Regions from separate parts of the Homo sapiens genome. Here all the other regions are linked to region 1. The links are contacts of gene promoters, found by promoter capture Hi-C in blood cells and fetal thymus (Javierre and others, 2016). All regions are on one chromosome and are shown on one strand. The core of a region is centred on a gene start or on the middle of the fragment in contact, and the rest is flanking DNA. Distances in the headings are between cores, read along the strand shown.

The links. The method cuts DNA at HindIII sites, captures the fragments that hold promoters and counts their contacts. A CHiCAGO score of 5 or more calls a contact.
Region 2: the fragment with the promoter of PPIH here is called in contact with the fragment with the promoter of MED8 in region 1 in 5 of 17 cell types (neutrophils, non-activated CD4 T cells, fetal thymus and 2 more); the score reaches 8.1 in neutrophils.
Region 3: a contact is called between the fragment with the promoter of YBX1 here and the fragment with the promoter of MED8 in region 1, in 10 of 17 cell types (fetal thymus, naive CD8 T cells, monocytes and 7 more). The highest score is 12.1, in fetal thymus.
Region 4: the fragment with the promoter of DPH2 here is called in contact with the fragment with the promoter of MED8 in region 1 in 2 of 17 cell types (neutrophils and erythroblasts); the score reaches 5.2 in neutrophils.
Region 5: a contact is called between a fragment that was not itself captured here and the fragment with the promoter of MED8 in region 1, in 1 of 17 cell types (fetal thymus). The highest score is 5.3, in fetal thymus.
Region 6: the fragment with the promoter of ZNF691-DT here is called in contact with the fragment with the promoter of MED8 in region 1 in 12 of 17 cell types (fetal thymus, total B cells, total CD8 T cells and 9 more); the score reaches 12.2 in fetal thymus.

Annotation. Positions count from the first base shown.
Region 1 is chr1:43,388,058-43,392,106 of GRCh38, reverse strand. MED8 (mediator complex subunit 8) reads left to right here and starts at 2,307. Exons shown (of 7, transcript NM_201542.5): 1 at 2,307-2,348; 2 at 3,679-3,797. The coding sequence starts at 2,343. SZT2 (SZT2 subunit of KICSTOR complex) reads right to left here and starts at 2,208. Exons shown (of 72, transcript NM_001365999.1): 1 at 2,112-2,208. The coding sequence starts at 2,138. RefSeq lists a silencer at 1,888-2,217 and an enhancer at 3,658-3,797. The HindIII fragment of the contact is 2,691 bases long and covers 1-2,386 here.
Region 2 is chr1:42,656,696-42,660,744 of GRCh38, reverse strand. PPIH (peptidylprolyl isomerase H) reads right to left here and starts at 2,322. Exons shown (of 10, transcript NM_006347.4): 1 at 2,233-2,322; 2 at 1,837-1,901; 3 at 1,494-1,517; 4 at 1,179-1,223. The coding sequence starts at 2,298. It overlaps CCDC30 (coiled-coil domain containing 30), which reads right to left. Exons shown (of 21, transcript NM_001395517.1): 21 at 3,555-4,049. The region is part of intron 1 of LOC124904162 (a long non-coding RNA gene); the gene reads left to right. The HindIII fragment of the contact is 5,565 bases long and covers 471-4,049 here.
Region 3 is chr1:42,680,550-42,684,598 of GRCh38, reverse strand. It overlaps YBX1 (Y-box binding protein 1), which reads right to left and starts at 2,181. Exons shown (of 8, transcript NM_004559.5): 1 at 1,868-2,181; 2 at 1,133-1,196. The coding sequence starts at 2,033. It also overlaps a transcript of PPIH not described here. RefSeq lists silencers at 1,276-1,425, 1,536-1,645, 1,836-2,035 and an enhancer at 2,476-2,525. The HindIII fragment of the contact is 3,657 bases long and covers 90-3,746 here.
Region 4 is chr1:43,967,747-43,971,795 of GRCh38, reverse strand. DPH2 (diphthamide biosynthesis 2) reads right to left here and starts at 1,786. Exons shown (of 6, transcript NM_001384.5): 1 at 1,474-1,786; 2 at 1,088-1,200; 3 at 607-830; 4 at 1-409. The coding sequence starts at 1,620. IPO13 (importin 13) reads right to left here. Exons shown (of 20, transcript NM_014652.4): 20 at 3,774-4,049. RefSeq lists enhancers at 1-113, 1-443, 444-990, 1,476-1,755. The HindIII fragment of the contact is 12,483 bases long and covers 1-4,049 here.
Region 5 is chr1:43,947,279-43,951,327 of GRCh38, reverse strand. It overlaps IPO13 (importin 13), which reads right to left. Exons shown (of 20, transcript NM_014652.4): 1 at 3,644-4,049; 2 at 1,175-1,911. The coding sequence starts at 3,727. Among named protein-coding and RNA genes, the nearest start is that of IPO13, 2.4 kb to the right of the region's middle. The HindIII fragment of the contact is 2,008 bases long and covers 733-2,740 here.
Region 6 is chr1:42,844,225-42,848,273 of GRCh38, reverse strand. It overlaps ZNF691-DT (ZNF691 divergent transcript), which reads left to right and starts at 1,860. Exons shown (of 5, transcript NR_186083.1): 1 at 1,860-2,017; 2 at 3,590-3,763. ZNF691 (zinc finger protein 691) reads right to left here and starts at 1,661. Exons shown (of 4, transcript NM_001242739.2): 1 at 1,617-1,661. It overlaps ERMAP (erythroblast membrane associated protein (Scianna blood group)), which reads right to left. Exons shown (of 12, transcript NM_001017922.2): 12 at 3,283-4,049. RefSeq lists enhancers at 1,625-1,694, 1,855-2,124. The HindIII fragment of the contact is 2,341 bases long and covers 1,805-4,049 here.

The sequences.
Region 1 (4,049 bases), core at 1,058-3,557:
TTTTTTTTTTTTTTTTTTTTTTTGAGACGGAGTCTCGCTCTGTCGCCCAGGCTGGACTGCAGTGGCACAATCTCAGCTCACTGCAAGCTCCGCCTCCCGGGTTCACGCCATTCTCCTGCCTCAGCCTCCCGAGTAGCTGGGACTACAGGCGCCCGCCACCACGCCCAGCTAATTTTTTGTATTTTTTTTAGTAGAGACAGGGTTTCACCGTTTTAGCCAGGATGGTCTCGATCTCCTGACCTCGTGATCCGCCCGCCTCGGCCTCCCAAAGTGCTGGGATTACAGGCGTGAGCCACCGCGCCCGGCCTTGTTTCATTTTTTTATGTGGCTATCAGAAAATTTAATATTACACATGTGGCTTGCTTTAGATTTCTACAGGACGGTGTTGTCCTAGACTATCTGCCTAAAAGGTATGTTGCATTTCCCCACAACATCCCTCCACCTCCTTTCACTTTAATCTATAATGAAACATCCTCTAAACTGTTTCATAGTTTTTCTTGTGTTAATATTTCTGATTGATCTTGATTGATATTTCTGATGCATGAGCTATTCTACCACCTCTGTGAACATGACTATTTTAAATAAGGCATAGTTTCCTACCACCATATTCAATGTTGGGTCTTACCACACCAAATCCCAGTGAACTGGAGATTTACCATTCTGTGGCTACTTTATTACTTATACCATGAACAATATGGTTAAGAACACAAGGACTGGAGCCTGGCCATCTGTTTTGGAGTCCTGACTCTAATACTTAATAGCTGTGTAACTTTGTTACTTTTTTTTTTTTTTGAGACGGAGTTTCACTCTTGTTGCCCAGGCTGAAGTGCAATGGCATGATCTCAGCTCATCGCAACCTCCACCTCCCGGGTTCAAGCGATTCTCCTGCCTCAGCCTCCCGAGTAGCTGAGATTACAGGCCTGCGCCACCATGCTTGGCTAATTTTGCATTTTCAGTACAGACAGGCTTTCTCCATGTTGGTCAGGCTGGTCTCGAACTCCTCACCTCAGGTGATCTGCCCACCTCGGCCTCCCAGTGTTGGGATTACAGGTGTAAGCCACTGCGCCCGGCTTACTTTGTTACTCTTAATATCTCTGTGCCTCAGTTCCTAAACTAAAAAAAGGAGATGATACAGTGTCCACTTCATAGGGCTGAGGATTAACTGATATTGGTAAAGAGCTTAGAATGGTACTGAGCATGCAGTATGTATGCAGTAATGAATACTATTTCTATCATTATACACATCTCTCACCCTTCCCACCTACTGATATGTTGGCACCTTTCCTGGTGGTGGTGTTTTATCCGAATCTGAGATTTTAAGCTCAGATCTTCTAACTCCAAACTGCTAGTTCCTGGATGAGTGGCATTTGAGTAAGGTACTAAATCTTTCTCATTTTTCAGTTTTCTCCTCTGTGAGAATGCCACCTTCCTTGCACAAGTCTGAATGACACAACATATATAAGGTTCCTTGCATGTTCCTTAGCATTTAACGAATATATCATATCACCTTTCTGGTTTATTACATGTGATTCTCACAACACACTATAAGACAGATATTTTATAAAGAAGGAAACAGGATCCGGGAAGACTCGCCTGAGGTTGCACAGATTAGCTACATGACAGCGCCAATATTGGAACGAGGTCTCAGTCCGACTCAAATGTTTTTTTCATGAAATTAAAGCTGCTTTTCTAAAAGCATGAGCCCTAGAACTAAATAAATTCATGCTGTTTATGGTATTCCAATGCCTAAAGAAATGCAAAAACCAGCAAAGTAAATCTACTGCCGTGTTGCCCATTGAAACTGCAACAGAAAGTCAAAATACAAGTTTTGTTAACACCGCTATAAGTCTTAGAGACGACGACGCGGGTGACATGTCAGTAAACAAAACAAAGCGAACAGTTACTCCTTTAGCTCCCCGAGGAAACTGCGGACCGCGTCCCATACACAGTCCGCAGGGGTACCATAGTCGGGCCTTCCGGGCTGGGCTGGTCCCTGCCGAGGCTACGCAGCCCGGCCACCCCCAGACCTAGAGGAGGCCAACGCCACGCCTGCCCGCCGGACCCTCCCCCTCGGATCTCGGGGCCCAGTGCTGCGCCCGCCCGCCCCTCACCTCCGGCTCCGGGCGCTCCGAGGCCATCACACAGCCCTCCCGCGCCGGCCCGGGCCAGTGAGGGTGTTCCACTCTTGACCCCTGACCTCGCTACCTCGGCACCCAGCAGGAACCGGAAGTTGGTGGGAGGGCCGAGTTCCAGTTTTCTGATTGGTGGACGAAGCCTTCTCGTAGGCGTTTGCTGACTGGAAAACCGGAAGTGAAATCGTGGCAGCCGCCTCGGCCGCCGCAATGCAGGTGAGAGTTGCGTTGGGCGTACTAGCGGCTGGCAAGCTTCGGGTACAGGGACCGAGAGTGGGCTGGCTAAGGAGAATGAAGAGTTGGGACTGAGAAGAGAGGGCAGAACCCACGGCTGATAAGGGAATGTGGGCTGGGGGGCGAGGCTAATTGGAGCGGGAGCGGCGGCGATTAGAGGTGGGGGTGGAGCTTGCCTGACAGGAGACAGTCGGGCTAAATCCGGAGGGAGGAGGCAGCACCTGTTTGCTTGGCGTGGGAAAGGATTAGGTTGTAATACGGGGAGGCTGAGATGCAGTCCAAGGAAGACGGCTCAAGAAGGTGGTGGGTTGGCTCAGGCCCTGTCCTAAGCTGCTGGATGGAGGCTGTTGGTTGCCGATATAGCAGGGGATCTAATTGGAAAGAAGCCCAAGCAGTGAGGGAATTGTGGGCCGCGATGGCTGAAAGCTAAGCAGCTTATAATCAGAGGCCATGGTGGAACCCGGGATCAAGTTTCTGTCAGGCAGGTTTGCAAGACAGTTTTGCATCCCTCTTCCCAGCCTGTGCCCTATAGTTGTTAAGGGTGAAGAAATGGAGTAAAACAGGAGACCACCGATGGGAAGGAAATGCTTTGCAGACCCCCAGCATTTTAATTTGTTTGTCCAGTGCTTAGAAGCATGTGTGGTTTTTGTTTTTCATTTGTCACTTAGTTTCTTGCAGCTGGTAGTCTCAATAAATGTTAATGGGTTGACTGAGCTTGTGAAAGAGGCACGGGAATATTGACACAGAGATAGATGATTGCATATTAATTCAGCAAGGAGAAGGTTGAAACAAAATGATGAGAGCAGATGGAAAGCTGGAGTCGTTGGTTGGGGGAGGGAAAGGGGAGAGCAGGACTGGTGTTCAGAGAAGTCTTCATGAGTAGGCAGATTTCCCAGAGACTGACAAGACAGCCAGGCTCACAGATGCTAGGATGGAGGAAGCTGGAGTGCATGTGCTACAGAGGTGCACATGAGAGAATGATCTCCTGGCATTAGGTCTGTCGAAAATGTCTCAGTGAGGGAGTGTAGGGTGTACCTAACACAGAGAAAAACCAGGCATAGATTAGGAGGTGATGGGGAAAAGGAATCAGTTGGTGGAAGGACTTGGGGTCAGGCAAACAGGTTGGAAGGTCTCAGGGTTGATGCTGTCTATAACCCAAATACCAAAGATAGAAAACAACCTGGCTATCCTATGCCAATGAGATCCTGTGTTACCTGACTGGTGTTGCACACCATCTCCTTGGCTTTCCAGCCCTCCTTTCTATGTGTCATACTCGTTTATCTGGGTGACCAACCTGTTCCTATTGGTGCAGAGAGAGGAGAAGCAGCTTGAGGCATCATTAGATGCACTGCTGAGTCAAGTGGCTGATCTGAAGAACTCTCTGGGGAGTTTCATTTGCAAGTTGGAGAACGAGTATGGCCGGCTGACCTGGTAAGAGTTACCAGGGCAAGCTAGGAAGGGCTTATGGGTGGGGGGGCCTAGCCTCCTGATGAATAGGACATTTCTAATGATGTAACCATTTATCAGTTTGCAAACATCTTTTGATTTGGAAAGAGCTGGGTTTCCTAACATTTAGCAAGTGGATTCCATGGCAAGGAAGTAGAGAAATGCTCAGTTTCCTAACCCAAGTTCTTTCTAGCTTTCAATTCTTACCCTTTGACTTCTCTGGTGAGGAGGTCCTCC
Region 2 (4,049 bases), core at 1,073-3,572, 730 kb after region 1:
AAAATCATTACTCTTAGCTGGGTGCGGTAGCTCACGCCTGTAATCCCAGCAGTTTGGGAGGCCGAGGCAGGCAGATCACATGAGGCCAGGAGTTTGAGACCAGCCTGGCCAACATGGCAAAACCCCGTCTCTACTAAAAATACAAAAATTAGCCGAGCGTGGTGGCACATGCCTGTAGTCCTGGCTACTCGGGAGGCTGAGGCAGAAGAATTGCTTGAACCCAGGAGGCGGAGGTTGCAGTGAGCCAAGATCATGCCACTGCACTTTAGCCTGGGCGACAGAGTGGGACTCTGTCTCAAAAAAACAAAACAAAACAAAAAAAACCTGAAGATTATTCTTTTCCTGAATGATTAAGCTGAAAGGATAATTAACCATAAAAAAGGATTTTCGTTATAAATTAGGGCATGTTAGAGTTGATCAAGTGCATGATCTGGTACCTGAACAGTAATAAGAAGAAGGGGCTGAAAGCTTACTTGCCAAAGCAAAAGGCAGAGCAAGGGTTTGATGTAAATTTGGGGGAAAGAACTACAGAGAATTTATGTGAAATGTACTGCTAAACATGTAAGGGCTTAACAACTGTTAGCTATTACCCCTAGGGAGGGTCCTTAACCTTTCTTATCCTCAGTTTCCTCCTCTGTAGAATGCAGATCACCCATACCACTTCACAGGAGTCTTACTGGGGATTAGAGACCCAAAGCTCTAAAGCTGTGATATAATTATGTGCTAACATTGTTACTAACCACAGTGAGGCCATGAGAAAGATTCTATATTGAAATGAGACTAAGTGTTGACATACTCCACTCCCCAGGAAATATGATTATCCTTGGACAATCATATATGATCATTTTAGGAATTAGTTATAAATATCAACCAGCAGGATATATTATATGCACTTTAGGATTACAAGTGTACTTTTTAAAAAATCTGCATTCGCACAAACAAGTGCATGAAAAAGACAAGATATTGTAAAGATGAGTAGTTTCTGTTTTAAAGACCTAAGAAGTGGGGGAGTGTAAGTAGAGTTAGAACATTTAATAAATCTTCAGTTGTTGAGTCCACAAAAACATTTCTTCTCAAGAAATGTAAGAATTACCCTCTGGTTTTATTTTCCTCTAAAGAGCCTAATCCCCCAGGAAATATTTCTGAAAGACTCCAGGATGGCTTGCCAAGAGCCTTACCTGTGGAAGGTGCTTCCTTTGTATCCTATTGGAACCCCATCTTTCCTATAACCGAAAAGAAAGAGACTTGGAGTGACAGCAGGTAGCACAAGGCCTTTCCAGTTTACCATGCACTGGAGCCAAAAGGACTCTCCTAAAGATGGTTGACAGACATAAAGAAGGCAAATAAACTAGGGACAGACCCTTGGGGCATTACCTTCTATCACTGTCACCAGCAATCATTCAAGGCCAGCAGGTGGTTCACCGATACCCTCACTGCAGCCCCAGAACACCCCTCTGGAGCAGGCAAAGAAGTCAAACACATCTGAAACTGACCTGAATTCTCCGGTGCAGAACTGCCTGAAAGGGACAAAAAATGAATGATTCAATCACTATGATGTCACAGTCGTGAGCGCCTCTAAATACGGGAAAGAATAAACACTGGAGCCAGCAAGTCCACCAATCGGCCAGCCAGACGTCCAGACACGCAGTCACACAGACTAACAACGTAAATTAACACGGGAACAATCCAAACGGCAACCAGACAGAGCAATGCATGGAGGAATCAGGTCTCAAGAGCAGTGAGCGGACGGACAGAGGTAGACAGGCTATTTCAGGCGGCTGACTGGAGCCCGACTTCTGCCTCAGCTAATCCAGCGGAGCTGGAGCACGTCCTTACCTAAAGTTCTCGGCCGTCTTAGGCACAACGTCTGCAAAGAGCTCGATCTTCATGCGGCCAACTTCCTGCAATCAGCGGGAGAGTGTCAGAAGGCCCAGTCCAAGACCATGAGGGCTTCACGGAGCAGGGGGCATGATGGGCTGACCCACCACCCTGCCGCTCGGTATCTCCCACCTCCGCCTCCCTAGTCTAACCGCCCAGTTCCTCCAGAAGCGGGGCGCTAGGATTGGGGAGACTCCTCCTCCTCCTTTCCCCCCGCCCGGCAGGTCGGTAGGTTCGGGTGCAATTTCACTTTCTGGCTGGCTTCCCGAGTCCGCTCTCTCTGGGTGAGTTCTGCCTGCCTAGCCCCGAGCAGTTTCCCTTCGGCGCAGGTGTGGGCAGCCTCCTGGATCTCACCTGACCGCCAATACTGACATCAAAGAACACCACGGGGTTAACAGGACTTGAATTTGCCACCGCCATGGCTCCGACCCGGAAGCAGAAGTCGGGAGCGTGGGATTCCGGCGAACCTAAAGCCCGGTCCGCGGATTTCGTCCGGGGAGCAGGCGCGGTAGACGTGGAGCGAGACCAGGCTCCGCCCCCGGAAGCTGTCGCCCCGTGCGGTGTGTGCTGAGACTGCTAGGGTCTAGCTGAGAGACTCTGCCTGGCACTGGGGACGCGGGAGTGAGGAGGAGGAAAGCCTTGACATCTTTTTGGTTAAGGTCAATGGTCACCCCACTCACGTGGCTGTACTAAGGGCAGTACAAGTTGATCTTGCTCTAGCTAGGACTTTTGGACTAGGCAGTCGCCAGGGTCCTCCTTATCGGCTCTTGCAGCCAAGCCCTCTGCACCGCCACACGTGCTGTCTGTCTTCTGCCCGCTAGTGTGAACACCGTGAAGGCAGGAACTCTGGTTTGTTCATCCTCAGCGTTTAGAACAGCTTGGCACGTACAGGCTTGCTAAGTAAATATCCCTTCCTCTAAGTCAGGACAATAGATAATGTTTGTTCTGCCACAAAAGCTACCAGTTTTGTCATTTCCAATTCATTTCCCATAAAGCAACTAGAGTTTTTTATTTTTTATTTTTAAAATAACTCTTGTGCTTCCTATTTATTTTAAAAATAACTCCTGGCTTCCCATATTTAGAATAAAATCCAATTCCGTGCATACGAAGCCCTACAGTGCATTTATCTGGCTATCACGTACCTGACCTCATCTTGTACCACTTGCCCTTAGTTACTGTGCTCTGACCTGTCTGTTCCTCCAGGTCACTGAGATCCCTCCTCTCTTTAGGGCTTTGTAATAGCTGTTACTTCTGTCTGAAATATTCCTTCCAGAACTTAATGTGGGTTGGCGGGGGATTGTGGGGGTTGGTTGGGGTATGCGTGTGGGAAGTAATGCTCCTTGTAGTTCAGGGCTCACCCCAGATGTTACCTCCTGAGAGGCAACATTAGACCTAATCTAAAGTAGCCCTTGGTCATTCAGATCACTGGTTTGTTTTCTTCATGCCACCCCCACTTCCACATTATCTTCGTATGGTATGTGTCTACACCTCATTTCCTGCCACACACACATAATCTTCCTCCCTGATAGCATATAAACTCCATGAAAGTAGAGACTCTCCTGGTCCTATTCGCAGCTGTAGCTGCAATGTCGCCTACTGAATAGCATATAGTAGGTATTCAATAAATAATAGATGCAATGAATTTAGTGAAAGAAGGGGACCTTGGGCAAGGCTCATTCAATATAACAGCATGCATTTAATAAAATAGTTATTATTTCCTAGTTCCTATGATCATCTTTCTAGCTCTGTTGTCTGAGAAAGCAAGGATTACATATAAAAATACAGTGTGTCTCAATGTAAAGGGTCATTTTTATTTCTGGTTACTGATCCTCTCCTCTTGGTCTCCTCCAACTGAAAAAGAAGAAAGGGGAGGAGGGGGAAAAGGAACAGCAGCAGTCACGCTTCAGTATAATTTTATACCAACTGTTTTAGAATAAATCTTTAAAATTGATAATATCCAATGTTGATGAGGTTGTGAAAAAAATAGTACATTGATAAACCTCTAGTGAAAATAAATGATGATAGCATTTATTAAGCAGTTACTACGTGCTAAATACTTTACATGCTTCATTTCATTTGGTCCTCACAACCCTATGGGATAGAGAACTATTATTGTTCCCATTTTAGGAATCAAGAAATTGAGGCTCAAGGAGGTTGAGTAACTTGACTAT
Region 3 (4,049 bases), core at 932-3,431, 710 kb after region 1:
TGCTTATCTCTTACTCTGAGTGTTTCCACAATACTCTATGATTGATTAATGAACAGTTTTTCATCAGGCAATGATTCTGTCCTTAAGCTTGATTTTGCCCATTTGTTGTCCATTCCACATTGTTCTTTTAATCATCTGCTTAGGTCTTCTACAGTAAGCAAGCAAGACAATGCTGAGATGGCACTAAGTACCATACCTGTGAGGCCAAGATTGCTACTGGCATACCCAGTGCTCTGCACCCATGTAACTAGCACTACTAGCCTTGGCAGCCATCTTGAAAATGATGCCCGGCTTACAAGGGAGCCCATGGAATACAGTGCGTCTACTGCACGTTACCACCACCACTCCTACAAACAACCCGAAGGGTAAGTCCTAAAGACGTGTCTGCAGCTTTGCCTTCAAACAGGAAGAAAAATGTCAAGTTACCAGTGACTATGGCCACTCTAATAAGCTACAGCCAGGGATCTAACAGAAATCGACTTAACCAGTTATGATTCTAGGACAAGGAAGAATGAAAAATAAGAACGGAAGAAGGAAAAAAAACCACTTTCTTGTAAATATATTATTTACTGGATGAGCAAATAAAAACAGTTCTCTCTGGTCAAAGCTGTGCTAAGACAAAATTTATCTCAGGTATTAAAATGAAACGTGAAACAAAGGCAATACAACCTCTCGGTAAAGATGACAAAACCTCATATAGTCAAATCCTCTTACCCTAAAACGTTAACAATGTATAAATATCCGATGTCAGTGGATCACATTCTCAAATACCGAGTTCAATAAAGTAGAAAAAGATGACAAGGATAAAAATGTACTGGACCGTAGTTTCCCGTTTACCCTGTTAAGGAATGGCTCATTCACTCCGCTTGCCTTTTGAATTGCTTTGTACTGTGACGAAGCCTTTTAAGTTAGCTTCAAATTAATATTTAGCTGCAAAACAAAGGCATTCTCTAGATCCACTAATCCCTAATCAAGGAAAACAACAACAACAAAAAATCATACTAATACACCAGAGGTAGTAAACGCCTTTCAGAACAGAGCTGTGGATTGGGGCTTCCCAAGCCCCGAGAAGCCGACAGAGCAGGAAGCAAGCAAGAAGGTGGGATGGAGGCTTCAGAGCCCGGCAGCTCACCTGTTGATGAAACCATATCCGTTCCTTACATTGAACCATTTTACTGTTCCCAAAACCTTCGTTGCTGGAAAAGAAAACAAAGCAAAACAAGCCACGATTACCAGCTATCCTTTTCCAAATCCGCCCGGCTTGGGCATCCGGTCCCTCGCACGCCGGCCGCCGCGGCCACCTGACAGCCCTTTCTCTCCACCGCCCGGGTGCGGGGCCACGCAGTCGCCGCCGCCGCCGCACACGTGGGTGAGTCTGAAGCGCGGGGCGCTCCAGGGCAGGCCCGGGGCGCGGGCCCCAGGATGGGTGTGTGCGCAGGCCGCGGACGGAGAGCACGTGAGGGAAGGGGAAGCCGCTCCGGCCTGCGTAGGCGGTGCGCCGCGCCCTCCGAGCACACGCGGAAGGGAGCTGGGTGGGGGTGACGCGAACAACGGCGTGCGGGCCCGAGCGCACGAGGCCGGTCGGCGGGGAGGGGACCCCGTCGCACACGCGGTCGGCGGCGCGCGGCCGCAGGGGGAGGGGCGCGCGGCCGCGCGGGGTCCACAGGGGGCGCGGGAGGCAGTGCGCGCGCGCCTGCCGGGCGGGTCCCCGCGAGAGGGAGTGAGGGGGGGACGGGGGGGATGGGCGGCCGCGCGCCGCGGAGTCGGTGCCCACCGGCCGCGCGCCCGCCGGCTCGCCCAGCTCCGGCTAACGGTTCCGCTGCTGGGCTGCCCGAGGGCCCCACCCCCGTCCCTGTCCGGTCCTCACCGATGACCTTCTTGTCCCCGCCGGCAGGCGCCGCCGATGTGAGGCCGCCCGGGCCACCGCTCCCTGCGCCGCTGCCCGTAGTGCCGGGCTTGGTGTCGGCGGCGCTGAGGGCGGGGGCGGCGGGGGGGGCGGCGGGCGGCTGCTGGGTCTCGGCCTCGCTGCTCATGGTTGCGGTGATGGTGACTGGGGCCGGCTGCGGCAGCTGCGGCTCCTCCCGGGGTGTGATGGTAACTAGGCCGGCGGCGGCGGTGGGGCTGCTCAGGGCTCTCTGGGGTCCGCTCTCCGCTCCCGCTACCGATCGAACTAGCGAGAATGGCGGGACAGGCGGGATAAGCCCTACGAGCGACCCGCCCTAGGCGTTGTTCACTGGCCAGTGGTACTGTCAATCTGCCCACCTGACCCCAATCCCTAGCTTCTATTGGCTAATATTTTATCAGTCCTCCATTCTCATTGGACCTTTGGCGGCTAATTCAGTCGACCTACAACCGTTCCTGCCTCCGCCGGCCGCCATAGAGACCGGAACTAGAATTAGAGTAGTCGGCCACGAAAACCATAGAGTACCCGAGAGGACGGGCAGAAGGAACGTGACTTCCACGAGGCAGCCGCCGGGCTGGCGGGCCCCACGTTCAGGGTTGTGTCTCGGCTGAAAAAAAGGCACGCCCGAACGCTGGGCAGGGATTACCCGGCCGGACCCGGGATTGGAAGGGGGCTCGAAGACGCCTTAGCCCCCCGTGAAGAAAAGGCTTCCCTCCCTCCCAGCTCCAAATACGGTCCCTGTGATCTGAGAACATTACGGCGGGCATAGAGTCGTCTTTTCTTTAATGGCCGTGTAGTCGCGGCACAGCCGAGGGTTTCTGGAATTGCCTTAAACGTATGCGTTTGAAGAGCGTACCCTTTTGTCGGAGCAGTCACCTTGGAGGGACCACGCAGGCTATGGCAGCCCGGGTTCAGCATGTTTAGGGCGAGGGTGTGCTCCATGGGGACCTGCCTTCTGATCCGTTTTACCAGGCATATATTTAAAAAAATGTGTCTTCCTTTCCAAGTATTCACATCTTTTTCTACTGACCACAAATCAGATTTAATTCAACTCACATTTATTGAACAAGCTAGCCTGTTTTGTTTTTTCACTTTATTCCTGCAACAGCCACGTGATAGAGGGATTACTATCCACGTTTCACAAACGATAAAATTGAGGCTGCCACCTGATGTTACTGAAGTCCTCCACCCACCTTCTTTCGTTCTTTTTTAAGCGTCTACTATCGGCTGGGGATGGAATAGTTCGCGAGTCAGTTTCTGCCTTCTGATGGAGGCAGAAATTTAAACAGCCAACACGGTAAATACTCCAGAGCTGCAAAACCACGAAGTATTTTGGGAGTGGAAGCAGGGAGAAGGTGGAGGGCTGACTTTCCGCGCACAGGGTACAGGCGAGAAGAGGTGAGATCTCGGGAAATGCAGTCAAGTAGTTCAGTAAGACTCGAATGTGACATTGGGTTGCAGAGGTGGGCAGTCACTTAGGTATATTTAATTGGAAATATATCCTGAGGGGAAGAGTGAGAAGAGCAATTTTAGAGTCATAAGTAGGGAGGGGCATCTTTTTAAAAATGGCTGCGGAGTGGAGAATGGGTTGCAGAGGGGCAAGGAATGGAAGTAGAGAAAGCAGTTAGGAGGCTAATGCAGTATTCCTTACCCCTACCAATGCCGTCTAGGCCTGTGAGTTCCACCTCCTAAAGGCGTTCTTGAGTCAGTCCTAAACCCTCTAAATGTCAATTCAGAGTCTTTTCATTCCTACTGTCACTACTGTAGGCCATCATCACCAATTGCTTAGAGCAAGGGGTAGGAACCTTTTTCTGTGAGAGCCAAATAGTTAATAATATAAGCTTGGCCGACCATATGGTTCTGACTTACTACTCAGGTTTGGAGCTTGAAAACAGCCTTAATTTTTACATGACACGAATCTTTACATATTTTCAACTATTTAAACATTTTAAAAACCATTTGTATTCTTAGCTCATGAGCCACAGAAAAACGGAGTGTAGTCGGCTGACCCCTAGCATAGAGCAGTGCTGTTGGCTACTAACCACACCTCTCTACCTCTTTCTTACTCTAATATTACCCACCACAACAGCCAGAAAGTTCTTTTGAGAACATCTATCTGATCATGACACTGTCTTACTTAAAATCT
Region 4 (4,049 bases), core at 537-3,036, 580 kb before region 1:
TCACGGTGTTGGGCTACACCCAGTGTGCCTGCCAGCAGCCCTACCACGCGGGCATCTCTGGCCCTCTCTACCAGATATCGTCTTCGTGCCCTTAGCCGTCCAGCCCGGGCACCCTCATCCTGAGTCTTCCCTGTATCTGGACAGCAGGAGGAGAAGGGTTGACCTGGTGCCCACCCCAAGAGCAGCCGACTCAGGTCTGGGTCAAGGTCTGGGTCAGGGCTGGCCTTAGAGCCCCCTACATAGAAGGCACCATACTCTTCTAGACGCCTCCCTGGGGCAAGGGGGAAGCGGCGCCCAAAACGCTCTAGGGGCATAGGCTCTGGACTCAGGGAACCCACTGGTTGGGGAAAAGCTGGGCTGGAGACTAGCAGGTCCAGGTACCGTGGGCGCAGGAGAGTAGCCAAAGCCTCTGGAAGAGAAGGAGGTAGTGTTGAGGTTGGAGCCTGGCAAAGCAGGAGCTCCCTCATCCCCAGGAGACTAAATATGACCCAGTAGGCTGGGGCCAAGCCCATATCAAGAGTTCTATGGATGGTATATGGAAATGGGGAAATTAAGGCATAAAGCAGTTGGCTCACCCTTTGTGCATACACAGGCAAAACCCCTTACCCAGGGCATGGGCACAGGCCGGCTCACTCAGCAGCACCACAGGCGCTTTGGGGTCTGGGTTCTGGGCCTCAAAGGCCTTGACACAGAGCTCCAAGGCCACAGAACGTTGACGAAGCACGAAGGCAACGGGCAGTGGGCGGGCTGGAGGGCTTAAGCAGGCAGGGCCAAAATGTATGAGAGCCTGAGCTCCAGCTTGCTCAGCACCCAGCACATCCACGCAGCAGCTGCAGGGAAGATAGCATCAGAGAAATGGGTTCTCTTCTGGAGGCGAGTTGCTGTCATCACTGGGAAATGTGGTCAGTGAATAAAATGGTTTCATTAAAGGAAGACATTGTCAATGAAAGGAGCTAGCATCAGAAGGGGAGTCATTACCATTATCATCAAGGAGAAACACCACCATTGAAGGCAATCACTGTCATAGACGTAAAACCCCATGAGCCCCGGATCCCCAGGCCTGGCCCACCTAAGGCCAAGTTCACACCTGCCGTAGGCTGTGTCACCCAGAATGAACATCTTTGACCCTGTCGTCTCCTCCAGTCGTGCAGCCACAGCCACAGCATCTCCCAATAGCTGGTCAGGGAACTGCAAGGCAACCTATAAGCATAAACCATGGAGTCAGGGACAGCCTCTCTCCCACTGAGGGCTTCTTTAAAGCAATCTTCCAGGAGCTCCCACTCAACCTTCAAAGCCCCTGGTCCCAGAGGGGCACTCTGCCCCACGTAGTAGGTGGAAGGGAGGGATGGTCAACGCGCTGCGGACAGACTGATTCCCCCACCCTCTCGCCCTCACAAAATCCCCCAAGATCCGGATCCTCTGGGCGACCCATCCCGACAGAGGCGAGCCACCCTTCCCTAAGTCTGTCCTCACTCGTTCACACCCCAGGTCGCGGACAAATCCAGCGACTCGCTCCAGCTCGTACACTCCGTCCAGGTCCGGAAGAGGAGTAAGCAGTCCTGGCACCCCGGTCTCTCGCTGCAGCGCCGCCTCGGCAGGGCTGCTAAACATCGACTCCATGAGGCACAGCTTGGGTGGTGGGATGCAGCGGGGACCTCCCTGGGACAGCTTCGGGGCCTGAGTCCTCTAGAGCAGCCCTCAGGGGGTCAAAATCGCCTTGTGGGGGTAGGGGGAATCACAGTCGGCCTTCAGCCGGTGAGTATCCCCTTCAGCCATCCTAACTACTGTTTCTCCGCTACACGTGGGACTACCGGGGAGGTTACTTCCGGGTTTTAGAGGCGTGGCTGATAGCGATTTTGCCAATCCTAAGTCAGCACAGCTCCCGCCCTCCAATCCCCGCCACCGCCCCGCACAGAGAACCAATGTTCAGCCTGAGTCCCAGGCCAGCCGGAAGTACATCGAGGAAGGCGCGGAGCCTTGTGGGCATTGTAGTTCCCCTGGCCTCCTCTCGGGCGCTGGGAGTCCGGTTCAGCCGACCCGCGGCCATCAGGAACACCGACTTCACTGTTAAGCATTTCACGTGCACTCTATCCTCTGGGCAGTATCACTGCATAATTCTTTCATTCATTCATTTTTTTTTTTTTTTGACAAGGTCTCGCTATGTTGCTTGGACTGGAGTGCAGTGGCGCGATCTCCACAACCTTCACCTCCTGGACTGAAGCCATCCTCCCACCTCTGCCTCTTGAGTAGTTGGGGCTACAGGCGCACCACCACATCCAGCTAATTTTTGTATTTTTTGTAGAGACAGGTTTTTGCCATGTTGCTCAGACTGGTCACAAACTCCTGAACTCAAGCAATCCACTCATCTCGGCCTCCCAAAATGCTGAGAGTACAGACGTGAGCCACCGTGCCCGGCTACACTGCATAATTTTAAACTTGGTGCCGACCGGCTCGGGTTTGAATATTGTGCTTGGTCACTTGCTACTGAGTATCTTAGGAATGTCCCTATGCCCATTTCCTTATCTGAAGAATGGGGAGTTGTGACAATAGTACCTCTTAATAAGATTGTTGTGAGGGTCTAATTAATTTATATACAAAACTTTACAAAGTAGTTCTTTGGATATCGCATGCAGTGAAAGCATTTGCTATTTAATCAGCCAAATACTGAGCACTTACTGTACATTAGGCACTTCATTTTTAGTGTTTACAGTCTTTGGAGTAAGAATTATCCCGAGTGGTACCAAGGACATGACTGGCACATCCTCAAGTCACAGGAGATGCTCTGCACAGCTCCAGCCATCCTCAAACACTGCTGCTTCCCAGCAATACCCCCAGTGCATACCACATAGACCTCTACCCTCCAGCCCCTCACATCCCCTCTACTCCCCATGTTTACTTATATGCAAACACCCCCACATGCAACATCACTTGAAATGCCCTCCTTACATACCTCTGTCAGATACGGAAACTGAGGTTCAAAGAGACTACTTGTGTAATAAGACACTAATTCTGTGGCACAACCAGCATCAAACCCGGATCTATTGAACAGGGAAGGAGTGGGATGAATGTGGGAGTAACGAGTTCCCCATCACCCACAAGGAGATTGAAAGCTCAAGGGTAAAAGTGGGGAGAACTCATTCTGCTCTTCAGATCTTACTGAGGAGAAGCCTGGGGTACCTGAGAGGCAGCCTAGGTGAAACTATAGCTGAGGAGACAGAAAGGGAGGCAACACTGCTAAGGGAGAAAAGCAAGAATAGGTCAGGAGCTGTCCCTGGTGCTGATTGATCCCTGACCATCCTGTGCTGGAGGTCCTGTGTAAGCGGGGAGCAGCGGACATATGGACAACCTTAGGTCCTACTTTCCTCTTTTCTCCTCTGCGGCTGAGATATCTTCTCTCCTTCACCTCCCTGCCACCCACCCACCCCCCAATACACACACACTCAGCCCCTTTCTATAGCCCTCCTCAACCATATGCAAGTTCGATGTTGTATAACTCCACACCAGAAACCCCTCCCGGAAGTCAAAACTCCACTCCATTTCTTCCTTCCTAAACGGACCCAGCCCTACCCCACTTGCAGCCCAAAGTCTCAAGTCCTCTACCTAGAAAGCCTACTATTCCTGTCAAAAACTTTCTCCATGCAGCCTTCCCTCACTTCCTACCATTCTCCATGGTAGCTATGGACTAGATCAACCTTTGTTCAGGGCAGAACGACGCAGGACAGAGCTAGGGGCCTAATATTCGGCGGTGTTGATTAAATAAATGTATGCATACATGCATGTTGGGATTAATTTAATGGGGATGGGGGGGTTGATGACACTACTGCAACCACCCCGCCCCAAGGACAATGACAGTATTCTGAAGGGCTCCAGCCTAGGTGGCTTGGCTACAGTAGTATCTCTTCCAACCTGGGAGCTAGAGGATGTTCCCACCATTCCCTCCCAAGGCCTGGGTCCAAGCATCCTCCCATCCTTCCCCCAGGCCTTCTGGACCCAGGCTTTCAGTTAGGTGGTGGTGACAGCAGAAAGGAGGCAGAGACAGCAGTGAGGGT
Region 5 (4,049 bases), core at 487-2,986, 560 kb before region 1:
CGTTCTCCATCAGAGGATTCATCATGTTGATTGTACTTGCCACTCATGTGTCCACTAGACTGTGAGCTCCTGAGACTGAAGCTAAAGCATTTGTCTCTGTGCTCCCAGAGCTCAGCACAGGGCCCAAAACAGGACATGCTCAATGAACATTTGCCAAACACTTCACTACACTCACTTCTTTAGGGCCCTTGAATATATCATGATGCTGCCCACAAGTCTTTGCACATGCTGTGGTTCCTAAAGCCTAGAACAATCCACCTTCCTCCCCCAATCCCTTCCAGCCCCACCCCTCCCAACTCAGGCAACTCCTACTTTCCTCCATTCACAAAATATCAAATGCTACCATGTGCCGAGCACAATGCGACAAAGTAAAATGACAGAGTCCCTGTCCTCACAGAGGTGAGAGAAATCATGTTATGGGCTAAGAAGGAAAAATACTGGGAGCTCTGAGGTAATATAAGAGAGAAGATCAAACTTAGCCTTAAGAATCCATGGAGGACTTCCCTATGGAAATGAAGTTTAAGCTGAGGCAAGGTGTCAAGTATATGTAATGAGCCAGAGGCTGAAAGGAACATGGGACATTCAAGGAATTAAAGAAACTGTGTGAGCGTGTAGAGAGCAAGGAGAGTAGCATGAGATGAGGCCAGTGATGCCATACTGTGCAGCACCATTATGAGTCACATTAAGGATTCTGAGCTTTAACCTAAGAGCATTGAGAAGCCACTGAAAGCTTCTGATCAGAAAGATTAGATCCCCATTTTCAAAAGATCACTGTGGCTGCTGGGACAATGAAGGGTACAAGAGTGAGGACAAGCTCTACAGTAATCTGGGGAGAGAGATGATGACAGCTTGGACTAAGGTGGTAGCAATGGAAATGGAAAAAAATAGATTTGCAATATGGTCAGGAGGGGAACAGCCAGGACTTGGTGACTAGTTGAGAGAAGGAAAAGAGAGTCAAATATTTTAATTGAATAACTGATAATTAGTTGTTTAATGTCTGCCTCCCTGTCTGAACCATGAGGACAGGGACCATGTCTTCTTTGGTTCCTTGCTGTATCTCCAGCATAGGACCAGGTATCAGTACACATTCAATTAATGTTTATTGAACAGATGGATGGATGGATGTGTGGCTGGCCAAAGAGGTTGTCTTCTGGGTGAGTGGGTACTAGCTCACCTCTGGGCATCAGGCTGTGAGATGGCATTCACAATGGCCTCCACACTGCTGTCGAAGAGCTCCGAGTCCTGCAGAGCAGCAAAGGCAGCCTGAATGAGCGCCTCACAGTCCTGCAGCGGCACCTCCAGCTGCACCCAGCTGGAGAAACACTTGAGCACCTTCTGACGCACACAGCTGGGTGAGCTGGGCTGCTGTAGCAGCTGCTCCAGCAGCGGGAAGACAGCCCCACATTCCACCGCCAGGCTGGTCCGCACCAGGCCTTTGCGGTACTGGGGTAGGCGACTGGTCTGGAACTCCTCAGGCAGCACTGTCAGCAGCTCTAACAGGGCTAGGCAGCGGCCCTGCCCATCCACTGGTGAGTCCTCAGCCTGGAAGAGTCGTACCATATCTGCCACAGCACATGGCCAAGCGTCAGGCATCATGCTGAGAGCCAGTGAGGCCAGTGCCACGCACAGCCGAGTCAGTACAATCTTGGAGCCACTGGCAAAGCGGGTGATCTGGGTGAAGAGCTGTGCCTTTAGGCTTTCATACTGGTCAGTGGGGATGTCACTCCAGTAGCGAGAGATCTTGATGTGAAGAGCACTGGCCCCAAAGTACTGGATCTCTGGTACCTTGTCGGGCTGCAGTAGCTGCCAGCTGAAGTGCCAGGCCTGTGGGGAGACCTGGGCCTGCATCAGCCACTTCTGAGCCAGGTTCTTATTCTCAATGTTGGGATCATAGTAGAGCTGGTGCAGCGCCTGCAGGACAGCACAGGACTGAGCAGGTGCTGGCCACTCTGGATCCTGCCAGAGCCCAGAACAGAGGCGTGACTTGGTCCTGCAAGGCTGCTCCCTCTCCCTGACTGGGGGGCTGAGCAGGGAGAGCTCAGCGCTCTGCAGTGTTTCCTGGGCCTGGGGTCCTGCTGATATCTTGAGAGCCTGAACCTTGCCCATGCTCTACCATATCCTCTTCTCCTTACAGCAAAACATTATGGGTTCAGAGAGGGAATCTCCACAGGAAAGCAAAAAAGAGGAGGCTGATCTCCCCAAAGGGGAGGCACTTGAGGGCAAGGCCCAGGTGGAAGGAACAGCTTCACAGGGATGAAGCTAAGTCTGAGAAGGGCATGGAACAGCTTGAGGGGACTTGACCCTCCCAGGCACAGCTGCTCCCATCAACTCCAACAGCTCCTTTCAGCTCCCCCAGGATCATCCCTAGGTCAGTCCAGATGCTGGCACCAAAGCCAGTGTGAAATCAGAGCAGGACTAAGACTTTTGCCAGGCAGCCCTGGGGCAGACATGCTGGAGGAGAGGGTGAGAACACTCCTCAGAGGGCACATGTCCAACCAATTGATCCAGAGAAGCCTTGGCCATAGCTGCAGCCCTGGCAAACACCTAGCTTAGTGCTCTCCACTAGCAGAATCCCCGGGGTCTCAATTCCAACGGGACTTTATGAAGTAAGAAAACAGTGAGATTTATCTCCCAATAGCACATGGAACAGTGCGCCACCATGCCAACACTGCCCTGCTCCAAGGGGCGGAAGAGTATGGCCAGGACCCTGACCCCTAAGCAGGCTCCATCCAAGTAAGCTTAGCTCTATTTGTACCCCTGACAGCCAGTTATGGCCATTGGCCCTTGTTTGGCCCCTCAGGGACGCCAAAGCAGGCAGAAGAGATGCATCCTCATTGTTTGTTATGGCAAACGGGGGTTAAGGATAACAAGTGAACATCATTCCCTGCTTTCAAGTAAGGGAGCCCCATCTCCCCATTCATCCCAGGGTGCATGCATTCCTGCATTTCAAGTTGTAGGGAGCAGATACAGAAAAGAACCAAAGAGGCAGTTCAGAAAGATGGGCTGGGCAGTCGGGGAGCCTGGGAGGGCCATGGCAGGGAGCTATGTGGGCAGGCGAGTAGGGAGGAGCCCTGTAAGGCTCCCAGCAGGGCCAGGACCCTTGGACTCAGCACAAAACAAAGGGAGACAGCCCCAGGCCTGCCTGCTCAGGACTGGTCTGGCTTCCATCCAATAAAGGAAGGACCCTTCTCCAAAGAGTCAAAACAACCCAGATTGTTTTAGTTCCAGATTATTTTCTGAGCCCTTGGCTCAACAAAACCAGGTCCAGGATGGTTTGGCATCAGTATAATTCCAGGAGACTGAGCTGCAGGTCTCCTGGGTTCCCAGTTTCCTACTGCACTGCTCATGCAGTTCCCATGGAGCTGGAACATAGCCAGTCTGGACGGAAGGCTAAGTCACAGCACCCTGAAGGGACCATCCCAAGACCCTAGAGTATCTATCCACAGGGGACCTGCCTGTAAGGAAAGACAAAAATAGCCCATTAGGGCACTGCAATACTGCCTGCCCAGAAAGAGAGCAAATGCCAGGTGCTCTGGGGGCACCATACCAGCGGGCACCCAGCCCAGGCCTGAGCTCTGCCATCAGTGACAGTCCCCAGAACTTCTGCTCTGTCACTGGAGTGCCCACCCCAGAGCCCTCATACCTTCTCCACGTTCTCCACAGTGAAGTCCAAGGCTGGTGCTGCTCCAGCCCCTGCAGCCCCCGGCTGCTCCTCCCGCCGCTCCATCTTTGCTCCCTCCCTGGCAGGGAGGTGGGCCCTGATCTGTCTCCTGCCCCAGCCCCTTGGCTGCTGGCCCCCTGCTAGACCCCGGCTTGGGTGCCCAGGGAGTGGTGGGGTGAGGGGGGGCCCAGGGCGGGCATGGCTGCCGAGGCCTCCCCACCTCGTTTGGGGGTGGGAGGCTTGCCAGAGACCAAAATTGGTGCTCTTAGGAGACCCAATGAAGGGGACTCCGAGGAGGGAGCCGTCAGTGAGGAGCTCTCAGGCGGGGATCCTAGTGGCAGGTAACAGCTCTGTCCCCAGAATCTGTGTGGAGGGAGTCACAGGGGAG
Region 6 (4,049 bases), core at 611-3,110, 540 kb after region 1:
CCCCTGCCCTGCTCCCATCTGACCTACAGCTACAGTATCTCTACGCAATGAGCTATTCAGCCTCCACTCACTTCCGAAACTGCTATTCTGAGAACCTATAATTTACCAAGTTCCAGCTCTACCCGGGGCTGGATGCTAGGTCAATGTAAGAGCAAAAGGATTTAGGATTATGATTACCACTCAGTTTGTGATACAGTGTACTGAAACAGACCGTGAACTCCAGAAATTGTCATACAATGCAGAAGGTTAAGTTCAGGGGACAGGGGCAGGAACTGTGCCTTAGTCACCTTTGTACCCACTCCTCAGTGTCTAACACAGCACCTGGCACATTATTAACATTTTTTTAAAGCTCGAATCAAGTGCTAAGCTGTGGACTAAGGACCATATATGAATCATCTAATTTCACTTCACATCATCCTTATTTTAGAGATGAGAAAGCTGAGGCTCAGAGAAATTAAGTATCTTGCCCAAGGGCACACAGCAAGTAAGTGGCAGAACTGGGGCCTATGCCCATCACTTCAAAGTCAGTGCTTTTAACCATTATACTATTACTGAAGGAAAAAAGGAGAGAAGACGGGAAGGAAGGAAATAAAAACAGTACCACTGAAGTTCACATGATACAGATGTATCTCCCTGATGAAATCAGGGCTGAGAAGTTTCAAGGAGGAGTAGGTATTTGACCTAAGGTTTGCAGGATGGGTAAGACTGGGACTTGCAGAGATAAAGAGGCAACTACCTACTGAGAAGACAGTGCAGCTGAAGTACAGAGGCACTTTCATATCACACTGCAGAGATCTGGGGGGAAAAGGGGTCTATTGGGCTTTGTCTTCCTGGTGGCTCAGCTGCACAGAGAGAAGCAACGGTGGAAGGGGCTGAGAAGTGGAGGAGGGGCCAGGTCTAAGAAGTTAAGAGCCAAGAAGATGGGGCTAGTGATCACAGATGATGAAGGTGAAGCGCCTAGGTTAAAGGCAAGGGGCCAAGCCATAGTGCGGTATGGAGGTCCGAAGTTACAGGTCTTTGGGGCCAAGTCAAGGGCTGCAGGGAGGAAGAGGAGAGAGGAGCTATGAAAGACCAAGAGCAAGGTGCTAACAGGGTAATTGTACAGGGAAGCTAGATAACGGGTCAGAGATACAGGAGGACCAAGGAAGTCAGAGGGTCGCAGGAGACGGTCAGGGAAGAGGAAGCAAAGGCTGCCAGAAGTGTCACAGGCCAGGGCCCAAGAGCTGAGTTGTGTGTTGCGGGGCGGGGAGAAGCCAATGGCGGAGGTCCAAGGGTACAAGAGCTGGTTTCAGAGATTGCCGGCGGGCTTGGGGCCAGAGAGGTGGGAGAGGAGGAGGGGCTGATCCTAAACGTATGGTCAGCGGCAGGAAGGCTGTATACTCAAACCCAACAGAAGGGCCGGGGAATGGGTTGGGGACAGCCACCTGGCTGCGTGGGCCGGGGGCCAGGGCGAGGGTCGCGGCGGAGGGACCACAAGGCCCCTTGGCTTCCCACTCGGTCCAGGGAGCAAAGCAGCAGCATCCAGATCCTCGGTGAGAGGGAAGTGGCCGTGTACAGAGTTTCCCGCGAAGTCGTGTCCGCCTCCCCCCGCGACCTCGGGCCCAACCCGGACCCACCTCGCTCCCGCCGCTCGATCAGGGACAGCGCCGCCTCTGTAGGCGAGGGAAGGAGCTGGAGCCGGAGCCGGAACCCAGGAAGGATCCGCCCTACTACTCCAGGATTGGTTTCTTGGGATAATTCTTTATTTCCATTGGCTACCATGACTGCCACAACGCAAGCGACCTGGCAGGACCACCAATAAGCTTTGACCGCTGGCGTGGCATGCTGGGAGTTGTAGTCCTAAGGAAGCGCGTAGACTCAGAGAAAACTTGCGAAGTTTAGGATGGAGCTGAAGAGACTGGGTTCCGTCCTACGGTGGGATTTCTTTCCGTGCTCGCGCGTTCAGCCCCAAGTCTCAGGGCCACTCGTCTGGGAAGTTGTAGAATCTGTATAGCCAACCTACACAACCTCCAAGGGGGCAAGTACTCAAATTTCCTTCTTTACTTTGAGTTGGTAATCCTTGACCGTCCTGTAGACGTCCAACGAAGCCTAGAGTCTGGCACCTCACTCAAGGTTTATAACTTAAAATCAAAGGAGGGTAGAGCTGGAAGGGAGTTTAAAGATAAAATAACCCAATCTCCTTATCGGAGAAGCTAAAAGTACCCTGTTCAAGGATCAACCTCCAGGTCTTCCAGCCCCCCTGAGCAGGGATTTTCCCGGGTTCCGCGTGCATCCCTAATTAAGCCTGACACGTGTTCGTCAATCCAGACACAACAAGATCACCAAAGTATCCAGGACTAGGTCTTTTTTTTCAGGTTTTATTTTTTAAAATAATAAAAGGCTAATGAAATACGTAAACTACAGGCTTCTCGTATCTGCACAATGTTTCAGTGCAAAGAACAAGGAGCATTGCCTTCAGAGCTAGATAAACCAAGTATAAAACTCTGGCTCTACCACCTAGCCATTTGGAGTACCAACTCCCTCCCCCATAAAATCCCTGGCAGAATTACTGTGAGGATATTATATATACATACATATATTCTCATGCATGTGTATGTGTATACATATATACATATATATGTATGTATGTTTTATATAGTTGTAAGGTTATAATACATACATATATTGAGGTTATTTCTTGATGACATTAATATTCAAATCAGTAGACTGATATGTATGTACATATATACATGTATAATACACATACATGTGTATATACATATACTAATGTATACATGTGTATATACATGCATACATGTGTGAATATGTATTATACATACATATGTATATATGTGTATACATATACACGTGCATACATGCTAAATACATATACATATATATACACCTATGTAGTACAGATATGTATATACACATACATGTATACATGTGTATATGTGTATGTATGCATATGTGTGTGTATATTATATGTATATTCATGTATGTATGTGTATATGTATGCATGTATTCTGCCTCCACAAGCTGACAATGTGAGTTAGTTTTAAGATTGGGATATTCAGGAATGCATGTTTGGAACTGAATATGGTTGAGTGAAATATGTGTGCCTTATGAACACTATTTGTTTATAAATTGATAAAATAAAATACTAGAGAGCAGACTCAGGAATAAAACTATGGCTTTAGTATGAACGGTGGCTAAACCTTGCCTTGGGGGACTCAAAGCTCTTTGGAAACCAATCTCTTACCTTCCCCACAACTCCTCATTCACAATGAAAATAACAGCATACCAAAACACAAATACCAAACTTTTATTTTAAAACTGTACAAAAGCAAACAAAAAATTCCACTGAGTCACTGTGATAGTTAATCTTATGTATCCACTTAACTGGGTCACAAGATGCCCAGCTATTTGGTCAAACATTATTCTGAGTGTTCCTGTGAGGGTGTTTCTCAATGACATTAACATTCAAATCAGTAGACTGAGTAATGCAGACTGTCCTCCCAAATGTGGGCGGGCCTTGCTGAATCAGTTGAAGGCCTGAATAGAACAAAAGAGCTAACTCTGCCCTAAGAGAATTCTTCCTGCCTAATAGCCTTTGGACAGGACCATCAGCTTTTTCCTTGCCTTCGGACTTGAATTAAACATCATCTCTTCCTTGGCGTCAAGCCTGCTGCCATCAGACTGGAACTAAACCATCAGCTCTCATGGGACTCCATCTTGCTGACTTATCCTGCAGATCTTGGGATTTAACCGCCTCCATAATCACGTGAGCCAATTCCTTATAATAACCACCGCCCCCCTGCCCCAATATATATTGATTCTGTTTCTCTGGAAAACCTTGACTAATACAGGAACTAACGGAGAACTTCTGACAAACAGAAAGATACAGTTTCTGTTGGATAGAACTGTGTATTCATCTGCAAACTGATAACCAATATCTCCATGGTTAGGCCAGATCGCATATATGATGTGACTTGAAAGCGACGAGGCTTCTGCAATACACACCCAAAAATCAAGGTCATTATTTCATCCTCACACCTAGTCTACCAACT